Linked DNA regions of Homo sapiens: region 1 is linked to region 2. Evidence: promoter capture Hi-C in human tissues and cell types (Jung and others, 2019). All regions are on one chromosome and are shown on one strand. The core of a region is centred on a gene start or on the middle of the fragment in contact, and the rest is flanking DNA. Distances in the headings are between cores, read along the strand shown. Region 1 overlaps CACNB2 (calcium voltage-gated channel auxiliary subunit beta 2). Region 2 holds the start of CACNB2 (calcium voltage-gated channel auxiliary subunit beta 2).

Evidence for each region. The method cuts DNA at HindIII sites, captures the fragments that hold promoters and counts their contacts. A contact is called where the count stands out against the background at its distance.
Region 1: a fragment that was not itself captured here is called in contact with the fragment with the promoter of CACNB2 in region 2 in 2 of the 25 tissues and cell types used here (aorta and pancreas).

What each region holds. Positions count from the first base shown.
Region 1 is chr10:18,225,740-18,232,073 of GRCh38, reverse strand. The region is part of intron 2 of CACNB2 (calcium voltage-gated channel auxiliary subunit beta 2); the gene reads right to left. Among named protein-coding and RNA genes, the nearest start is that of CACNB2-AS2, 33 kb to the left of the region's middle. The HindIII fragment of the contact is 9,297 bases long and covers 351-6,334 here.
Region 2 is chr10:18,137,365-18,143,593 of GRCh38, reverse strand. CACNB2 (calcium voltage-gated channel auxiliary subunit beta 2) reads right to left here and starts at 3,170. Exons shown (of 14, transcript NM_201596.3): 1 at 2,738-3,170. The coding sequence starts at 2,857. The HindIII fragment of the contact is 13,208 bases long and covers 1-6,229 here.

The DNA of each region.
Region 1 (6,334 bases), core at 3,750-6,249, 87 kb before region 2:
GAATGTTTCACATAAATACCTTTGTGGTCATTTTTATGTGCTTGGGGAAGGAAAATAAAAGCAATAAAGGACAATTTCCAAAAGAAGGTGTTAGTACATTTTGCATGGAGGTCTGGAGCATTCCAAATATGTATTTATACAGATTTTATCACAATCACTGCTAAGAGTTGTACAAAAGAAAAGAAATACTTCTTGTTGCTTACAAAGGGGTTTCAGCAGGGGAGTGATGAGGGCTGAAACTACTTTGAGACATACACAGTGAACAATGAGTCTTGAATAAAAGAGCAATTAGAACTCTCAGAGAGACTCAGGGAGCAAACAAGAATCTGATTTAGAACTTAAGTCTTCAGCATGCTTTACCCCTGAATCACATAGATCCAGGACAGCAAGTTTCTATTTTAAAGGTACAGCTGTCAATCAATCACTTACCGTACTGTCAAGTTTCTATAAGGCGCCATTTTATGTGCCAGTGAAGGTTCAATGGATAAGAAACAGGTGATAACAATAAGCCACATTCTCTAAAAGAGATTGCAGTCTAATTGGGAAGAGGATTCAAATACATAAAGAGATACACAAGACATAAGGATTTGAACATGGCGTGGCATGGTGGCTCATGCCTGTAATCCCAGCACTTTGGGAGGCCGAGGCAGGTGGATCACCTGAGGTCAAGAGTTTGAGACCAGCCTGGCCAACATGGCGAAACCCCATCTCTACTAAAAATACAAAAAGTTTAGCTGGGTGTGGTGGCGCCTGCCTGTAATCCCAGCTACTTGGGAGGCTGAGGCAGGAGAATCACTTGAACCTGGGAGGTGGAGGTTGCAGTGAGCCGAGATCGGGCCACTGCACTCTAGCCTGGGCAACAGAGCAAAACGCTGTCTCAAAAAAGAAGAAGAAGAAAAAAGAGTTGAACATGATACCACAAGCCATGCATTATGGCAACCAAAGGCCTAAGATGTAGGGCAATACTTTTTAGTTTGCATGTGGACCATTCCTAGCCAGGGCTACTTCTTTCTGTACATGCTATTAGAATACACAAAACACTGAGACGCATCCTTTCGTTTCAGCCTACTAACCTTCCTTCTCTCCTCCCCTAACTGACACAAGCTGCAAAATATGCACATTGCCATTGAGAAATTTCTGGGTTTTTCTTTTTGTCTGGAAAGAATTTATGGTTCATTTTAATCCCTTCTTGTATAGAAGTATTAACTAGAAGCTACCAAAAAAAAAAAAGCTACAAAAAATGATCTCCTTCTTATGGTCAGTTTCACCTCATGTGGGACTTGAAATGATCATTTATCATTTACATTAAAGAAATAAAATACGTCTCCCCATTTAGTAAGAGGTGAGGACTTTTGGTGACATGATCTTTAATATTCTTAATACTCTGTCTGATTTCTAAATGTCTATGATTCTTTAAGAATGACATATTTTACTTCAGTAATCATTTATAGATTTTTCCAAGAGAAAACTCGTGTTTTTCTCACCTTCCTTTCATTCTTGTTCCTTATTCCTATTTAGTACCACATATCTTGAGGTTTTTAAATCTCAAGGAACTGCCTTATAACAACACATACTGTACATGCATGCTGTTAGATGCCTTTATTTTCTGGGACTAGTTCCAATCATACCATGGTCTATAAACTTTTCCCCATATGAATTTATATTCATGTGTTTAATAACAGTACAAAAAAAAGATCGAGGGAACAGGCAACTTGAGTGTGAAAGAAGAAGTTTTCTGTAGAAGAGAGGGTTCATTCTTCTTGCTTTTATTTTCTAACAACAAGGAAAGTTCATTGCTGCAGAAATGTATGCTGTTGATTTGATTTATTTCTGACATTTCTATTACTTTTTCTTCTAACAATTCTATCTTGGAGAACAAGGGAGTTGGGGATGCTCTCTCTGTCTCCCTCATTCTAATGAGTTAGCCCTTTTGAACCAACTATGTAAAATATGATGTCAATAATTTCCTATGTTAGGTACAGATGATGCTGTAATATTCATGGAATGCAATCAGTGAACTAAGAATTGGTCACTGAGTGATTCAGATCAAAATAATTGCTGTCACCAGGATTCATGAGGCTGACTTATGGAGGAATAAATCACAAGATTTCTCTATGCTTGCTGTTTTGAAAGTGGGTGTCGAGTTTCGATACTAAAGGTTGCATGGCATATTCCAGTTTCTCCAAATGGTAGGAGTAATGCCATATGTAATTTTACCGTAGTACATCTTAATTTGAATCTATTTAACTACATAAAAATTACCATAAACATCCTTCTAAAAAGGGCTCTAACATCATAGCTATAATACTTCATTGACAAACATAACTATAAACCAACCTATAAATATATGAATCTATAGCTAAAAATTAGGACTGTTTACCATAGAAGAGTGTTTTCTTTTGATTTAACAAATATGATACCTACTAAAGAACTGTCCTTTTAAAAAGCCTGTCATTTTGTTAATATTTTAATACATTTTTCATGCTGCTAAATATTTTAAGGATTATCATAAAAATATAAATACATTCCTTAAATGATTTTCATATCTTACCAAGCAAAATTGAAAAAAGTTTAAAAGTGCATTTTCTATTTGCTTTGTACAGTGCTACTTTGAACTATTTAACTCCATGAACTTTAAAATCCCACATTAAATTTGGCTGGGTACATATCTGTGGTCTAATAAGACTAATTTTAGATCTCTGCTATTTTCCCAAGCAGAAATACAACTAAAGTTTTGAACTTCTGCCTCAACCCCTCAATATGGGAATAACGATTCTTGTTTTATAAGAATAAATAAAATCATGTAATTGAAATTATGGATTTAGTCTTCAGATTGCCAACATGCTGATCTCCTTTCCTTAATTAATATTCTAATATTATGCATACTAATAAATAATACTAATTTCTCACACTAATTACACTATCATTACTTACATGACCAAATAAGAAACACAGTTCAGATAGTTTATCTTGCTTGTGTATATATTTGCTGTAACAATGCTTTTTAGAACTGCAAAGAAATCCATTAAGAGAGCCGGATGCGGTGGCTCATGCCTGTAATCCCACCACTTTGTGAGGCTGAGGCAGGTGGATCACTTGAGGTCAGGAGTTCGAGACCAGCTTGGCCCACGTGGTGAAACCCCATCTCTACTAAAAATACAAAAATAATTAGCCAGGCATGGTGGCACATGCTTGTAATCCCAGCTACTTGGGAGGCTGAGGCAGGAGAATCCTTGAACCCAGGAGGCAGAGGCTGCAGCGAGCTGGGATCGCACCATTGCACTCCAACCTGGGTGACAAGAGTGAAACTCTGTCTCAAAAGAAAAAAAAAATCCATTAAGAGGGAAGAGGGTAAAAACGAGCCACTCACAACAAAACTGACACAGGCTGTCTCTGCAAGTCATTGAGTGATATCTGTCCCATGTGTTCTTCCAACTGTCCTACCGACACTAACTTGTACAAGATCACACATCCAGGACGTGAAAGACCTGGATTCAAATACAGGAGGTTGTCTTTTGAGGATACATCCTTCACTATTCTTTCATGTCTGGTAAGACTAATAAGATGCTTTCCATCTTTGCCTAAAAACAATGTATTATGTTTTTTCTTTTCTTTTTTTTTTTCTTTTTTTTTTTTTTTTGAGGTAGAGTTTTGCTCTTGTTGCTCAGGCTGGAGTGCAATGTCGCCATCTCGGCTCACCGCAACCTCTGCCTTCCAAGTTCAAGCGATTGTTCTCCTGCCTCAGCCTCCCAAGTAGCTGGGATTACAGGCATGTGCCACCACATCCGGCTAACTTTGAATTTATTTTTTTTAGTAGAGACAAGGTTTCACCATGTTGACCACGCTGGTCTCGAACTCCTGGCCTTAGGTGATTCACCCGCCTTGGCCTCCCTAAGTGCTAGGATTACAAGGCGTGAGTCACCGCGTCCGGCCTATTTTTCTTTTTCCCCCCAAATGAACCATCAACTAACCCAACCTTTTGAGGGTGAGGTTTTCATTTGTACACCAAAAGACACTCTGTGGAAAAGGCTGTCCCCTACCCTGAAAGAATGTAAAAATGTTGACTGCAAATTTTTTTTTCCTCCTTTCAGAGCATGCACTGAAGACAGCACTAGCATCTTCTCACTCTCTCAATCATCAAATTTATGATGTTGGAGTGGAGACAAAAGTGACTCTATCTTGGATGTTAATTCACCATGTTGACTTCTGATGAGCCCCAGTCCAATAAATGCCTTTTGATTCCTACTTTATTTACTGTCTCTTGTATGACAACATGTCAACCTTAACGTCACTGCACAAATTATAGGCGGTGAGGCACGCAGCATACTTGTCTATTCTGGAGGGTGCCTTTAATCACCTTGCTGGAGCGCATACTCCCTTTCCCTATGGTAGATAAGCGCTGGGTCTGGAAAGTAACAGCGCAGAGATCTGCCTGTCTTGCGGCCGCCCAAGACCACCTTTCTGTTGTTAAGTTCCCTCAATAAATCACCCAGTTCCAACAAACTGTCTCTTTGATTTCTCAGCTCCTTTGGCATTTGGGTTTGCTTTGCCTTTATGTGCCTTTCATGGAACACTACTGAATTGAAATAACGTTAGTACCCCCATCTCTGCGCTTTCCTCCTCCTTCCATCCATCAGTTCATTCCGAGCTGGGGTATTTTTTTTCTCCTATCTCTCTTTGACTGCATACCCTCTGACATGGAAGCCTCCAGAGCCTCCAGCCACTCCCCAGCCCACACCAAATCCTCCCCCTGGCCATCCAGCAACCAGGGGCCCCAAATCTGCGCTTCTGGATCACAGCTATGCCTGTGCTTCTGCTCCTCCTCTCGGTACAGAAGGCACTGCCCCTTCTCCTTCTTTTGCTTTGATCTGATGCACTCACCAAGACCCAGTTTGCTGACCTCCCTTCTGAGAAGTGCTACTGACCCCATTACGATATTCGACATAAAATTCTTCCTATCATTTCAGAAAACGTGTTGTTTTATCATTATGGTCTTTTCAGAAGGGAGATTTCTTTTTCTGCCTCTAATGTGGGCTGCTAATGTCATCCTCAGAGCTATGGGTGAAGAAATAGTCTCATTTAAGTGGCCATTCTCCTTGATTTGAAAGTGCAGCTAAATAACCCTCGCTCCCTCCTCCCCCACTTTTTTTCCATATTCCCAGGCTGGATAGTAGCAACATCTGAAAGAGACACCAATAACCGCAGACCTGTACAGTGTGGCAAAACTGGGAGTTAAAAGACAGGAGTTAAAATCCTGGCTGTATTCTGCCTGTGTCTTGGGGTGGTTTGATATTTCCTGGCTTACTTCTTTCCTGTGGTTTCTGGGTAAGATTTAAATGAGATTATACCTGCAAAAACTGTTTGTAAACCATTAAACAGTATACAAATGTAAGACAGAATAGACATTCAATTGATATTGATTGAGTTAATTCATTAGTGATCATACGGCCACACGCTCATGAATCTCAAGAAGTGCCGGCAGATCGTAGAAGCAACAAACAGGAAGATCAGGTTTTAAATCCCCATCTCTGCCTCTTACTGGCTGTGTAGCCTGGGGTCATACCAAATGAAGGAACCACAGCAGGGGACTGGTTTATAAGGAGCATTAAAACATCACTAGGGTAATTTGGGAAAAGGAATAGTTAACTCAGATCTCACTGTAACTCTTACAAAGCTAACAAAATGCATTATGGATCCAGCTTCTGCTGAAGTAGCCGATGCCAGTCAATAGAAACTTAAAACCATCCGTCTGGGGGCGGTGGCTCACACCTGTAATCCCAGTACTCTGGGAGGCTGAGGTGAATGGATCACTTGAGCTCAGGAGTTCGAAATTAGCCTGGGCAACATGGCAAAACCTCTTCGCTACCAAAAATACAAAAATTAGCCAGGCATGGTGGCACACACCTGTAGTCCCAGCTACCAGGGAGGATGAGGTGGGAGGATCACTTCAGCCCAGGAGGCGGAGGTTGCAGTAAGCCTAGATCACACCACAGCACTCCAGCCCGGGCTACACAGCAAGACCCTGTCTCAAGAAAAAAAAAAAGAAAAGAAAAGAAAAGAAAATTAAAAAAAAGCATCTCTCATCATGCTAGCCTGCCCTCCACTAAGAACATGTCTTTAATATTTGAAAATTAGGCCAGGTCCAGTGCTTCACACCTGTAATCCCAGTGCTTTGGAAGGCTGAGGCAGGAGGATCACTTAAGCCCAGGAGCTGGAGACCAGCCTGAGCAACATAGTGGGACCCCATTTCTACAAAAATTTAAAAACTTATCCAGGTGTGATGGTGCACATCTGTAGTTCCAGCTACTAGGGTGACTGAGGTGGGAAGATCATT
Region 2 (6,229 bases), core at 1,921-4,420:
CTCAAATAATGGGTGTGAGATGAACGCAATTCAAGTCAAATTGCTTTCATTTTTGGAAGGCAGAGAAAGCAAGGAGATGAATGTTGATGCAGTTGAATATTTATATCTCTTAAACTTGCTTTTAAAATCCATTCTGCCCTTTCTCTTCTCTCTCCTTTATCTATGCAATCACTTGCTAATTCCTGTGAATTGAACTTTGAAATGTTTGATACATAGAACTGTCATATCCATTATCTTTTCATCTCTTTTTCGCTTAGGCCTTATTACCTCGGCCCAAACTGTTACATCTGTCTGCTGCCTGGCAGCTTCACCTCTGGACTCCTAAGACTTGAAACTATCTTACAGAACATTTCCAAGTGAATATTCCCAAATGAGCTGCTATGTGGGTCCTCTTTTGAACTCCTTCCACAGTTCCCTGTCGCTCAATACACTAAAGATTCCAAGTCCCCAAGATGTAGTCTCAAATTGCTTTGTCAGTTTTACGCCTGTGTCCAATCTTGACCTTACCATGCTCTTTTTGAACTAGAAACGATAAATTATCCTGTAAGACTTCTTACTTCTGGGACTCTGTTTCATGTACGACTGCTTACCAACTCTCTCAAAAATATCTGGTGTAATCTGACCCATCCTTCAATTCTCTTTGCAAATGCCACCTCATCAATGAAGTCCTTACAGATTCCTCCAAATAGCGTGTTTATTATCCTTATTCCTTTGAAGCCATTTACTAGTCAGAACTTCTCTTCCAGCCCCTATACATATATCCTAATTGCTGCTACTGGAATATAAATTCTTTGAAGGCAGAAATTGTGTCTTTTCACATCAGAATCATTTCCACATTGCTGCTGTACAATAACTTGACTTACATTTAATCATTGTACATAAATCACAAAGTAAATTAGTATCTCTTATCTGAATGCAGTTATGTGAGCCCTGACTTTGATGTCCAGGAATTTAGGAACTCTATTTTTATCATAAGAATAAAAACTTTTCTAAAATATCCCTCAAGGAAGATCAAAGGCAAATGAGGGTCTAAATGTCCTTTCCTTTGATGGAGGACTCGAATACTGATAGTATTCAAGACCTTCATCCTAGAATAACCGAGGTCTCCGGGTACATTTTTCATTCTGTCTAACCTGGCAAGCATCTAGATAAAAATCAGGAGTCTAGAACAAATGCAAACTCTATTGGTTAAAATTCAGATCCTCTGGCAGAGGCCAGATGGGAATGTAGCTGGTTCATTACATGTCCCTACTCGGCTTGTGAAGCAAACAGCCCAGGGTGGACCAAAATCTAGCTGTTTTACCACTACAAAAGAAATAGATTTCTGATTACACAAGTCCTTGGTGTCCACATTCTTCCCCTTCTCAAGTCAAAGTGAATTATGTGTTTTAAGTTAGCACATTAATTTCCCAATGGTAAAAGAAAGTTCAATAAAGCTAGACTACTATGCCACTTGGAACTGCCATGATTACAATATCAAAATATCTAGAGCACTCATGTTCCACCTATCAAAACAACAGCAAGAAAACATTTGCCACCTTTATTAGCTTGTCACACTCCTGCCCCCACTACTACAGCAAATGATACTCTAACATGCTCTCTAGTGTGTGTATGTGTGTCTACGTATTAATATATAAGTATATATACACACACATATATATCTTACCGCAAATTAAAATCTGGCAAATGTAGGCTTGAAATCAACAAGCCAACACAGTTAAGCAAACAGACATTTCTCCAGAATGCTGCCTGAAATGTAACCAAGACCTCTTCACATCACTGGCCAGCCAACAGCCAGCCCGCAGCTAGGAGTCTGAAGTCATTTCCCTGCCGGGAGAAAAGTTGAGCGACTCCTCATCGCTGAGACCTGGAGGTGTCTGTAACCCAAACTGTACCTGCTGAAGCCTTACGTAAAAACGTAAAAACCACCTTGTCATTGCCCAGCGCCTACAACTGACATCTCCAATTTCACAACAACCTGCAGCGAAGCTGACTTTTTCCAGAAACCGCAAACACTCAACGGAGAGAAAGGGGATCCTGGAGATCCCTGAAATGGCTAACATTTCAGGGGAGACGGAAAAATAAAAACTTTCTTGTCCCCAGCTCACTCGCTTCTTAAGGGAAAGGCATGAGGTGGGACAGGCAAACCTTGGCAAGTGCCCGAGGGGACTGGAGAGCTGTCAGCCCCAGGTGCGCAGCGTGGTCCGGGCAGCTCTGGGGGGATCCGGCAGGGCACCCCCATATTCGCTCCCCTCCTGCCCACCTGCACCCCATCATCCTCACACCCACGCCCACCCCGGCTCGGAGCGTGGCCAGGAGAGTCGGCATCGTAGAAAGCGCTGCGGGAAGCGGGCCCCCTCCCGCCCACCCGGACTCACGATCTTCAGCAGGTCCAGTCCACTCCCCTGATTCATGTCTCTCCATGTGCCTCTCCCGGGAAGGGGCGAGGAGGGCCAGCTGGAGCAACCCGGGAGAAGTCTGGGAGGACTGGCAGGTCTCCCCCGCCCTTCCCCACTGGCTTTTCGGAAGCAGAGAAAAATGGAAGCCGAGGCAGAGCCAGGAAAAGGCGCAAAGGGGCAGGGTCCCCGGCGCCAGGAGAGGAGCAGAGGGTGGGCAGGCGACGAGGGGAGGAGGTGCGAGGCTAGAGATCCCTGCAGTGGAGGCGCCGGGAGAACCCGAGGTCGGTGCCCTGCCCGGCGGCTCACAAAGGAAGGAGAAGGCGCCGCGCTCTCGCTACCTGTGCGGCGGCTCCGAGCGCCCCCGCGGGAGCCACGTTCTCTAGCAGTTCCATCTGGATCTCCTGCGCCACCGCCGCCGCCGCTGTGGGAGGCGACTTGGACATGTCCCTTTGGACCATTGGCGAAAAGTCGGCTCGGAGCGAAGCAGCCAGCCCCCGGCGGCGGGTCCCCTCCTCCTCGCCCCCGCCTCCCCGCGCTCTGATCGGCTCTGGGGGCCGCCCAGGGCTCAGGCCCGGCCGTTCTCGGCGCAGCGCCCCGCAGCGCCCCGGGACTCGGCGCCCTGCTGCCAGGCGCTCAGTGCGCGGGACGGGGCCGGGGCATCGGGCGAAGCGAGCCGCTCGGGAGGCGGGACGCGGGGGCGCGGCTGCGGTGCCTGGGAGAGGGGAGCCCTCAGCGGGGCAGCCGGGGCCGGGAGAGCGGGCGCAGCGCGGCGGGGATCGGAGCCGCGGGCGCCGGGAAAGGTCCTCGCCAGGAGGGGAGGGAACTCCGGGAGCGCGAGCCAGGGGGAGGCGCGTCGGAAAGCGAGAGTGACAAGCAGCCTACAAGCCGAAAAGTTCCTCGCGGGAGGCGCGCGCCGCGTGGGCTCCGACTCAGCCGCTGCGCGTCGCCGTGGCACACAGGCTGAAAAGTTTGCGAAGCCACAGAAGCCAGGCCCGGCGCTCAGGGGGCCTTGATCCTGTTCCCATGGCCCCAGACCACCCCTCAGGAACCCTTAGAGCAGATCTCTTAACTTTGGAGGGGAAGGACGACGGAGGCTGGGTTCCTACACTGAAAGTTTTAAATTTGTAAAGCCTGCTGGCAGCCCGGGAGAGCAAATGTCTGCAAAGAACATCTTCTGGGCAGCTGAAAGCCCTTGCTAATGTCAGTAATAAGGATCCAGAGAAAGAAATGGCATTGATAAAGATCATCAGGTGATCCCACCTGAATCTGCAGCTGGCCTCGTCAACTAGGTGGGAATCCACCCAACCTGAGACCGAATGTTTTGCTTTATGACTGCTGTCTTCATCTTTGCCAAATTAAATTAGCACTTCTTTCCAAACATAATTGAAGTTTGTTGTTGTTGTTGCTTGTTGTTGTTTTAGACGGAGTCTCACTCTGTCGCCCAGGCTGGAGTGCAATGGCGCGATCTCAGCTCACTGCAACCTCCGCCTCCTGGGTTCAAGCGATTCTCTAGCCTCAGCCTCACGAATAGCTGGGATTACAGCCACAGGCCACCAAGCCCAGATAATTTTTGTGTTTTTAGTGCAGACGGGGTTTCACCATGTTGCCCGGGCTGGTCTTGAACTCCTGACCTCAAGTAATCCACCGGCCTCGGCCTCCCAAAGTGCTGGGATCACAGGGGTGGGACACCACGCCAGGCCAGGGTTGAGGTTTTTCTATAGGGGTGAAAAGTCTTAGTGTCACATTTTTGACAAAACAAGCACTTCCTTAAGATCCAGAATTCTTGATAACAGGATAGTGACTATGGTGAGGGTGTTTCACTTACAACATTCCGTTCAGATAGTCCCAAGGAGCCACATTTTTACATGATTGAGTGCAACTTATTTCAACAAATTTTACTACAGTGGAAACTTCTGTAATGAGTTTTCCAGGCATTTTTTTTTTTTTTTTTTTGAGACAGAATTTCACTCTTGTCACCCAGGCAGGAATACAGTGGCACGATCTTGGCTCACTGCAACCTTCGCCTCCTGGGTTCAATCCATTCTCCTGCCTCAGCCTCCCGAGTAGCTGGGATTACAGGTGCACGCCACCACAGCCGGCTAATTTTTTTGTATTTTTAGTAGAGATGGGGTTTCACCACGTTGCCCAGGCTGGTCTCGAACTCCTGACCTCAGGTGATCTGCCCGCCTCTGCCTCCCAAAGTGCTGGGATTACAGATTTGAGCCACTGCATCCAGCCTAATTTTTGTATTTTTTAGTAGAGACAGGGTTTCGCCATGTTGGCCAGGCTGGTCGCAAACTCCTGACCTCATGATCCGCCCACCTTGGCCTCCCAAAGTGCTGGGATTACAGGTGTGAGCCACCGTGCCCATCCAGCTCCAGAAACCTATTTATATGTTATTTTGTAACAACAAACTGAAAGTTTGGTATATTGAAATACACATGCAAAAATTTACTATAATAGGCTTCAACTGCCTTCTATAGTTTACTATGATATATTAAATTACATGAGATACAGTACTTTTCTCCTCAAAGATAAGCATAGACATTTTAAACCTATCATCTCCACCATAGCACTGATTTGCGCCAGGCTTAAAGAATGGGTCTTGATACAGTTAAAGATTTAGCCATAAAGCATCATTGATTTTCCTAAACTTTGGTATTAAAAATGCCACTTTTATGGGCTACGGACACAAATAGAAAATTCTCAAAAGAAGATATACAAATGGCCAACAAACATATGAGAAAATGCTCAACATCAATAATGATCAGGGAAATGCAACTCAAAACCACAAAGTGATACCACCTTACCCCTGTAAGAATGACCATAATCAAAGAATCAAAAAACAGATGTTGGCATGGATGCAGTGATCAGGGAACACTTCTGCACTGCTGGTGGGAATGTAAACTAGTACAGCCACTATGGAAAACAGTGTGGAGATTCCTTAAAGGACTAAAAGTAGAACTACCATTTGATGTAGCAATGCCACTACTGGGTATCTACCCAGAGGAAAAGAAGTCATGATTCAAAAAATATACTTGCACATGCATGTTTACAGCAGCACAATTCACAGTAGCAAAATTGTGGAACCAACCCAAATGCCCATCAATCAACGAGGTGATAAAGAAACTCTGATATATATGATGATGGGATACTACTCAGCCATGAAAAGAAATAAATTAACAGCATTTGCAATGACCTGGATGAGATTAGAGACTATTATTCTAAGTGAAGTAACTCAGGAATGGAAAATCGAACATCATATGTTCTCACTGACATGTGGGAGCTAAGCTATGAGGATGCAAAGGCATAAGAATGATACAATGGACTTTGGTGACTTGGGGGGAAGTGTGGGAGGGGGCACGGGATAAAAGACAACAAATATGGTGCAAGGTATACTGCTAGGTTGATGGGTGTACCAGGTTCTCACAAATCTCCACTAAAGAACTTACTCATGTAACCGAATACCACCTGTACCCCAATAACTTATGGAAAAATAAAATTAAAAAAATTAAAATGCCACTTTTATTTAAATTTTGCTGAATGTTAAACAGCAGCACTTAAATATTGGTTTGTAATAATTTCTAAAATGGGAACATTTTGAACAGCAACAATCAGCCATGCTTTTATATGTATGCCTGTATGTATGTGTGTGTGAAAATGGAAAAGAAATTGTGTTTAAAGTTTTCGACTTATAGTCTACTTTTGCCCCATGCTCTGTTGATAATATCACTGTTTTAGGCCTACTCATTTAATCAAACTGTGAAGTTTTCTTGAGCATGTGTTTAAATCTTAGGGAAAACATTAAATCCATTTCAGACTGTAAACTC